2 separate regions of the Homo sapiens genome follow, and region 2 is linked to region 1. The links are contacts of gene promoters, found by promoter capture Hi-C in blood cells and fetal thymus (Javierre and others, 2016). All regions are on one chromosome and are shown on one strand. The core of a region is centred on a gene start or on the middle of the fragment in contact, and the rest is flanking DNA. Distances in the headings are between cores, read along the strand shown.

What was found. Contacts are between HindIII fragments. The CHiCAGO score rates a contact against its expected background, and 5 or more counts as called.
Region 2: a fragment that was not itself captured here is called in contact with the fragment with the promoter of IL13RA1 in region 1 in 2 of 17 cell types (monocytes and neutrophils); the score reaches 8.5 in monocytes.

Annotation. Positions count from the first base shown.
Region 1 is chrX:118,725,314-118,729,735 of GRCh38, reverse strand. It overlaps IL13RA1 (interleukin 13 receptor subunit alpha 1), which reads right to left and starts at 2,130. Exons shown (of 11, transcript NM_001560.3): 1 at 2,010-2,130. The coding sequence starts at 2,097. RefSeq lists a silencer at 2,092-2,521. The HindIII fragment of the contact is 2,975 bases long and covers 767-3,741 here.
Region 2 is chrX:118,610,390-118,614,578 of GRCh38, reverse strand. It overlaps DOCK11 (dedicator of cytokinesis 11), which reads right to left. Exons shown (of 53, transcript NM_144658.4): 28 at 4,161-4,189. Among named protein-coding and RNA genes, the nearest start is that of IL13RA1, 120 kb to the left of the region's middle. The HindIII fragment of the contact is 4,338 bases long and covers 590-4,189 here.

The sequences.
Region 1 (4,422 bases), core at 881-3,380:
AGTTATATTATTGGTAAAGATTAAATGAAATAGTACAAGTAAAGCAGCTAGAAAACTGCTGGGCATAAATGCTATATACATGCTAGTTATAATTAAGACATGCCACAATGTGGGCCATTGAGTGGGACAGGTTAAACTAAGCTAGTAATCTAATCACTTTTATAAACACTCTGAGGATTAGAGCTGGAGGAGCTCTTAGAATTTATGCAGTTCAACCTCCTCATTTCACAGATGAGAAAACTAACTGCAGCACAAAAGAGAGGAAATGACCAGCCCAGAGTCCCACAGGTGGTAAATATCAGAACCACTAAAACTCAAGTCTCACTGGAAACATCTAATTTTTTCCCACCATACCTCAATGCAATTCTATCAATACTTTTAATGGGGAAAGAAGTTTGTTTTCTAAATAAGCAAGCTAACGACAAACCATTGTGACAGGACTGATGAAGTTGGGAGTTGCCAGTATTCTCTAGATGGCCAGCTGTTGTTTCAGGTGTGTGTGGGAGTGAGTCTGTAGGAGGGAGGGTGCTGGAGTGGCACTGTGAAAATCAGGAGACTAATGAGACGGGTAACTTTAGACAAGTTCCTTCCCTTCTCTGGACTGCAATGTCCCCATATGATTACGGAAATCAGGTGTACCCAACTAAACTAGAGGCCCTTTTGGGGCAAGAATTTTGCTATACACTCTCAGGTTCTAAGTCAACCTAGAGGGCCTGACTCAGTACTAAATAAGGCAGACACCTGAATAATTATTGACTGACAAGCTTCAAGTCTCCCTCAGGTCTCTACTCAAATGCCACCTTTCAGCAACATTTGTTTTCTTCTCGATCCACCCTTTTTACAATGGCAAACCCCTTCCCACCTGCTCTGTTTTTCTCTACTTAACACCCTCAGACATATCATATATTTTACCCCCACCCCCCGATATGTCTGAGGGCAGGCACCTCATCTGTTTTGCTCACTGCTGCATCCTCAGCCCCTAAACACTGCCTGGCAGCATGTATTTTATTGACTGAATCCATAGAGGGCATTAAGGTTTCCTAATCAACATTTCAACTTGGATTTCAAAGCACATTGGTAAAAATGCAATAAGCATATATAAGTGTTTGTGTCAATGTGATAATAAAACCTATACAGTTTGGGGCTTTCATTGTCACCAAAAACGTCCAGAAGGCCATTCCTTCCAGGAGCTGCTCCTAAGGAAGTCATTAACTCCCAATTTTTCACAACTGCCAGGTTGATTAACTAGAAGTTACCAAACAGGGTGAGGGATATACACAACTCTCTGAAGTATCTTTGCAACTTTTCCATAAATCTACAATTACCCTAAAATATAAGGTTTATTAAAGAGAGTGGGGTGGGGGGAGCATCTGCCGGGATGCTATTCTGGATTTCCCAAAGGATTTCTTCGACGCCAGAGGAGGTCATGAGCGTCACGTCCTTTTTCAACAAGGACTGAGATGTTTAGAGGTTCCCTTCAACTTCCACTCGCAAGAGCCACCCTTAGACAGTGAGGATTGGCGCGGCCTCGGGCAAAGAGCCCCGGCGCGTTCTCAGCTCGCCTGGACTTCGGTCGTGGTCCCCGCCGGCTCTGGCGCCTCATTTCCTCCCGGGCTCACAGGCGACATTCCGGGCGCTGACCCACGGCCCTCTGACGCCGTGGGCATGTTTCGGGCCCCCCGCCCCCGCACGCCTGGACGCCAGCCTCCTGGGCTCTTCCCACTACAAGTCGCAGCCCTCTTACTTCGCTGCCGCCACCTCCGCCGCACCCGGAGTTCGGGAAAACCCCGCAGCTCCCGGGTCCCACCTCGAACCGGCCCCAGTACCGGGCCCCAGAGATCCCGCGCGGGAAGCCGCAGCCGCCGAGCGCGGGGCCTCGCGAGGGCAGCCCCCAGCACCCACCCCAGCTTCGGCCCTCCGCCCGGCGTTGACCTCCGGGGCCTTTCAGCCGTGACCCTCACCGCCCTCAGCCCTCCGGCCGCCCCTCGGGCCCCGAGGGTCGCACTCACCCGTAGGCGCGGCGCCCCCGCCCCCGCCCCCGCCGCCGGCGCAGAGCAGCAGCGCCCACAGCCCGCAGAGCCGCGCCGGCCACTCCATGCAGCCTCTCGCCTCGGAGCCCGGCCGGGCTGGAGCCTTGGCAGTCCCCGCCTCCTTCGCTCCCTCTTCCACTTCCCGGCTCCGCCGCCCTGGAGGCTGGGGGCCGGCGCAGACGGGAAGGGCCGCCCCGCCCACCGGCCTCAGGTAACCTGAGCCGGCGAGAGCGGCCGGAGGAGGCGGGGCGGGGCGCCGGCGGCTCTGGCGGCTCTGGCGGCTCCTACGGCTCCCAAGGCTGGACACCTGGCCCACCCGCAGCTCCCGCGTCCGGTCTCTGACCGAACAAAACTTCTTCCACCACGTCGCCGCCCACTCCGGGCGCTGCCTGGGCCTCCTCCCTCCGCGTGGCGGAGCCGGCGTCGCCGCTGCCAGCACACTTGCGGGGCCTCGGAGGTGCTAGGGGCTGTGCCCTGCTGGACACCAGGACAGAGTCATCTGCGGAAAAGAGCCTTGGCCTGGGAGTCTGGAGACCTGGCTTCCAGCCCTTGACCTCTGAGCCCTTGTTTGCTAGCGCTGACTCCAGGGTTAGTAATACCAGCCCTACTTCACTGGGTGGAGTTGGGGACACTGGCAGTACTGTGCTTTGTGAAAAGGACAAAGGGCATATTTGAAAGCTGGCAATACATAATGTTGATTTTAAAAGGAACATTCCAAACATGAGGGAGGATACCATACGTGCATTTTTTAAAGCACACGACAAACTTTCTACATATTTTTCAAAGGGATGGGAGGTGAATCGGAAGAATACACATTGATACTTGGGCGCCTATGAGGGTCAGTGAGGCTGGGAGGAAGGAAAACAAGAGTCCTTAGGCGTTTCCTGTTGCTGCTGTCAAAAATGACCACAAATTTAGTGATTTAACAGTTTTATTTTATTACAGTTCTGGAGGTCAGAAGTGACACTGAGCTTAAATCAAGGTGTGGGCAGAGATGTATTCCTTCTGGATATTCTAGGGGAGAATCTGTGTCTTTGACTTTTCCAGCTTCTAGAGGCTACCCACATTCCTTGGCTTGTTGCGGAACTACTCAGACCTCTGCTTCCCTTGTCGTATCTGACTCTGACCCTCTTACTTCCCCTTTTCCCTTATAAATACCCTTGTGATTAGATTAGGTCCACCAGATAATTCATAATAATCTCCCCATCTCAAAATCCTTGATTTAATCATAACTGAAAAGTCATTTTTGCTATGTAAGTTAACATATTCACAGGTGTTGGGGATCACGATATGGAATCATGGGAGGGGGACATTATTCTATCACCTTCTCCCAAAAAAGAATCATGTCTAGGTGGATGATGAGACCCATAATGAGGTGTATTTTGGCCGAATTAAGCCAATGCATATACCTGAAAACAGTTACAAAAAGTATAGCAATAAAAATGCTGATAATATACCTAGTCTAGACCCCACCCAAAGGGCACAGGGTTGTTTAACCTATTCACAACAAAGGTTCCACTCTTGGAATTAAGGCTCTCAAACTCAATAAATATTTATGAAATTGTTCCAGGAACTGTTGAAGACACTCACCAAAAGCAAGCTCTGCTAACAGAAAGCTGCAGTCAGTCTGAGGGGCAATGATAAGGGCAAGAACAAGGAATTATGGGATACAAAAAGGGTACCTTTTGGGAGGGAAGGAGCAAGGGAAGCTTCCAGGAGGAGGGCCTGCCTGTGCTGAATCTCAGGATGTTGATTCTTTTGGCTAACGGTTCAGAATAAATTCCAGAATCCAGGCATGGTGGCATGCACCTGTAATCCCAGCTATTCTGGAGGCTGAGGTGGAAGGATCACCTGAGCCCAGGAGTTCAAAACCAGCCTGGGTCTGTAACAGAGTGAGACCCCGTTCTCAAAAAAAAAAAAAATAAATCCTGGCTTGCATGTGTTATCGAACAAAATAATGTTTATGAAAACAGTTTGTAAAGTATCAAGGCCTGTAGAACTGAGAGATAGTATCATTATTTCTAAATCCCTCCCACAAATAGGTCAGCCACTGTGTATCCCAAGGCCTTTCCTCCACCACCACGGACATATACACTTGTTGACATTTGCTATAAACATTATACAATAAGTTTATAATAACGTTTCCAAAATGGTTATGTCATCTGCCTTTTAAGGAGTCTTTAGTTGGAACAGGAGCCCCTGGGGACTGGCTGAGTGCCATCATGGGCACTGCTTGGCATAGATTGACCAAGCGCTTAATAAAACAGTAATGGTAGCAAATGATTAGAAAAATAGGGATTGCAGCTTGTCATGAGCTTCCAGAAAAGCCCTGAGAATCTGAACATCGTGAGGAAAAAAAACAAACGGCAGTGTGGAGAGGGGAGAGACCTGA
Region 2 (4,189 bases), core at 1,509-4,008, 120 kb after region 1:
TTTATTTTTATAGATAACTTTCTGAGCTTCAGGTGACCTTAAAGAAAAAGATAAAGGGCAAGTGGCATCACTGGAATTGGGACTGAAGGGCCTCAATTATACAGTTTTCAGAACAAGATGTATATATAGCCACACACACAAATATACATTTATCTATACATACACACACATACATACACAGACACACATACATATCTGTAATCTATTCAGCTACACTTCCTCATTTTGGTCAACTCTCAAAGCCCAAGCGAGTTGACCTCATTTTGGTCAACTCCCACTTCCAAAGGGAAGTGTAAGGTAGTCTGTTAGCTGATGAAAGTGAGGCTTGCCTATGTAAATATTAATAATTCAGACCAAAAGAGTTTTTGTGTTCAGTGAAGTCAAAGCATAAAACCTCCCTTCTCTGTGACAGCCCCAAGTTATTTATATTTGCCCACTGTCATTGTCCTAGTTAAGGCTCTCACTACCTTGCAACTGAAAAACTGCAGTTAACCTCCTCAGTCTTCATGTCTCTCATGTCTCTATCCATCTGCTTCCAGATTAACCTCTAAGTCCTAGCCCAATGGTGTCATTTTCCTGCCCCAAAGCTTCCAATAGTTCCCTATTGTCTCTAATACAATTTCAAATTCCTTAGCTTGCCATTCAAGAACACTCATAGTCTTTTCCCAACTTACTTGTCCAGCTTCATTTGCCAATAGATCTCATTGACTTTCTTTGACTCTGTCTCAAAACAGAAAAAAAGAGAGAGAGAGAGAGACAGGCAGAGTCTTGCTCTGTCACTCAGGCTGGAGTGTGGTAGCACAGTCATAGCGCACTACAGCCTTAAACAATCCTCCTGCCTGTCTCCCAAGTAGCTGAGACTAAGGCGGGCACCAGCATGCTCAGCCATCATTCACTTATTATCCCCTCGAGATGCACTGTGTATTCCCACCTCTAAGTCTTTGGCTTATGCCACACCTAGCAATTCTTTCGCTACTTCTATCTGGTCTTATTCATTCTTTAAGGTTCTCATGAAATCCCATCTTCCTTAACTACATTGGTCCATGGATCCTTTTAAACACTTTATTTCAGTATTAGCTTGTATTTTACTGACTGTTTTCCTGTCGTCTCACCTAGATTGGACAATAAGAATGATCTTTTCCTTTATATCCTTCATAGTGCCTAGAATATTTCTGTGAAATCCGAAGAATTCAATATTTGATTAACCAGCTACCTGCATCTTGCATCTCATACTCTCCTTTATACTTCTGCTGCCACTGCCCAGGGTAAGACCCTCATCACCTCTCATCTGGATTACTGAGTGAGGCTCATATTTATTTATTCCAGCATCCAACAAACATTTAGAGGATCTACTATGTTTGAGACAATGTACTACATTCTAGAGAAATACAAAGTGGAATAAGGCATGGTCCATAATCATGTCTAATAGTGAAGACAAACAAATAATGAAAAGATAGTGCACAATAACAGTGCCACAGAGCTATGTAAAAGACAGGTGAACAACAGAAGGGGTGATCAACACTGCATGGAAAGGCCAGGGAAGAGCTGAGCCTAAAAGATAAGTGGATTGTGCCACGCGGATGATTGGTTTTCTAATCGGTTGCCCTGACTCGAGTCTCTTCCTCACTTCATCTATCATACCAGCAAGAAAAGTATCCTCCCAAGTATTTGGTGTTACTCCATTGCATATGAATCAAAGTCCAAATTCCTTAACCTGACATTCAAGGCCTTTCATTATTGGCACCAGATGGCCTTTCCAGCTCTTTCTCCATACATCCTAAACTCATCACACGACTTTTCACTCGTCCCTGAACAATTTTTGAACATGCATATTTCATCTTTGTTCAGGGACCCTCTAACTGCAACATGCTCAACTCTTGTCTTGGGGAACTCTGCACTATGTTACTTGTTTCATGCTGCCTGGTCATAATCTCTCTCTCCCTTTCTAGTTTTTCTATAGTATTTTGTCTGTATTTCTGGTATTACTGTTATCACCTTTATCTTGTATATATATTCAAATTTGACTACTAACACGGCCTCTCACATCTTTGAATTGCCACACAGAAGTCAAGCCAATGTTTGCTGACTTGAATTAAGTAAATACTGCTACTAAACCAAAAATGTTCTATTCCCTTTACATAGTAAACTTCAACTTTAAACTCCATGGAAGAAGCTAATATTCTACATTTCAGATAATCTAATTCGTAGTTTATTTTAAAAAGATATGTGGATGTTGGCTTTTTTAATACACAAAAAAGGCTAGTGTAATAGGGTTAAAACTTTATTTTAATTCTGGCAAAGAGAAGTCTTATGTCAGAAAATCATACTCAAGATGTGTGAAACCTAGTTGTGAATTTTTAATTAACAATGAGGATATGTTAGAAACTAAAACTCCTTGGATGAATTGCTGCCCACAAGGTTCTTAATATGAAGAGTTTTGAGAGTAATGAAGAGCTTTGAGAAATGAAGAGAGGGAGAATGGAAAGAGGCAAGTAAAAACTAGGTGCATTTGCAACCCACGCTTGTCTCTGCCACACATCAAATATTGTTGTTACCCACTTTATCACAGTTACATTCAGGCCAAGAGGGGCAGATCACTTGAAGTCAGGAGTTCAAGACCAGCCAGGCCAACATGGCAAACCCCTGTCTCTACTAAAAATACTGGGCATGGTGATGCATGCCTGTAATCCCAGCTACTTGGGAGGCTGAGACATGAGAATCAGTTGAACCCAAGAGGCGGAGGTTGCAGTGAGCTGAGATCGCACCAGTGCACTCCAGCCTGGGTGACAGAGCGAGACTCTGTCTCAAATTAAAAAAAAATGAAAGAAAGCAAGAAAAAAGAAAGAAAAAACAGTTACATTCTCTCACTGCCACTTACATACTGACAATAACAAAACCTAATGATGGTAGTTTGCCATCTTTCATAAATATAGTTTTCTTCTGGTATATCCCAAATAAAATAACCTCACTGATCAACACTAACAATTTACATTTACACGTATTAGCAACATGTACACTGTGGTTACATCACCAAACAGGTTGCTTTAGTCCAAAAGTTGCAAAGTCAAAAGCCAACGGGGTCAGAGAAACGATTTAAATGAATGAGGAGGCTCAGGGCTGTAATAAGGAGTGGTAGGGATGGTGGCAACCTAGAAAGTATGTGCTCCCATTTAAATAAGCATTCAAACTATGCTTAAAAACACTGTGTACAACAAGCAACACTTGTCTTCTGACTAGGCCACCTGTATGTGTCCTCTGATTTAATTATTTGTCATTTCATTGGGGGATGGGGACAAATTTGTTGTGATCAGGTAAGCTAAAATATACAGCTTTTATCCAAAAGAGGCAATAACAAGTGTTGGTGAGGATGTGGAGAAAAGGGAACCTTCCTTCCCTATTGGTGAGAATGTAAATTAGTACAATCACTATCAAGAACAGATTTGTTTGTATTTCTGGTATTATTGTTATCACCTTTATCTTGTATATATAGTTAAATTTGACTACTAAGGTAGCTTCTCACATCTTTTCTTGTTTTGTTTTGAGATGGAGTCTTACTCTATTGCCCAGGCTGGAGTGCAGTGGTGTGATTTCGGCTCACTGAAACCTCCACCTCCCAGGTTCAAGGGATTCTCCTGCCTCAGCCTCCCAAGTAGCTGGGATTACAGGTGCCTGCCACCACACCCAGCTGATTTTTGTATTTTTGGTAGAGACGGGGTTTCACCATGTTGGCCAGGTTGGTCTCGAACTCCTGACCTCATGTGATCCGCCCACCTCGGCCTCCCAAAGTGCTGGGATTACAGGTGTGAGCTACTGTGCCTGGCCAGCCTCTCACATTTTTGAATCGCCATATAGAACACAAGCCAATGCCAATGTCTTCTATGGAGGTTTCTCAAATAACTGAAAATAGAGCTACCATACGATCCAACATTCTACTCTTAGATGTATACCCAAAAGGAAGAAAATCAGTGCATCAAAGAGATATCTACACTCCCATGTTTGTTGCAGCACTGTTCACAATAGCCAACGTTTGTAAGCAACCTAAGTTTTCCAACAGTCTTATGAAGACCTAGCTGAGCCTCTAGAAAGTGCTTAATTTTTTTCTTGGGCTTCCTATCAATGAAGAGGAGTTCCTTACCACATTCTAGCTGCCTTGAACTCACCTTCAGGAAGCTAGCCAAACTATAGTTCA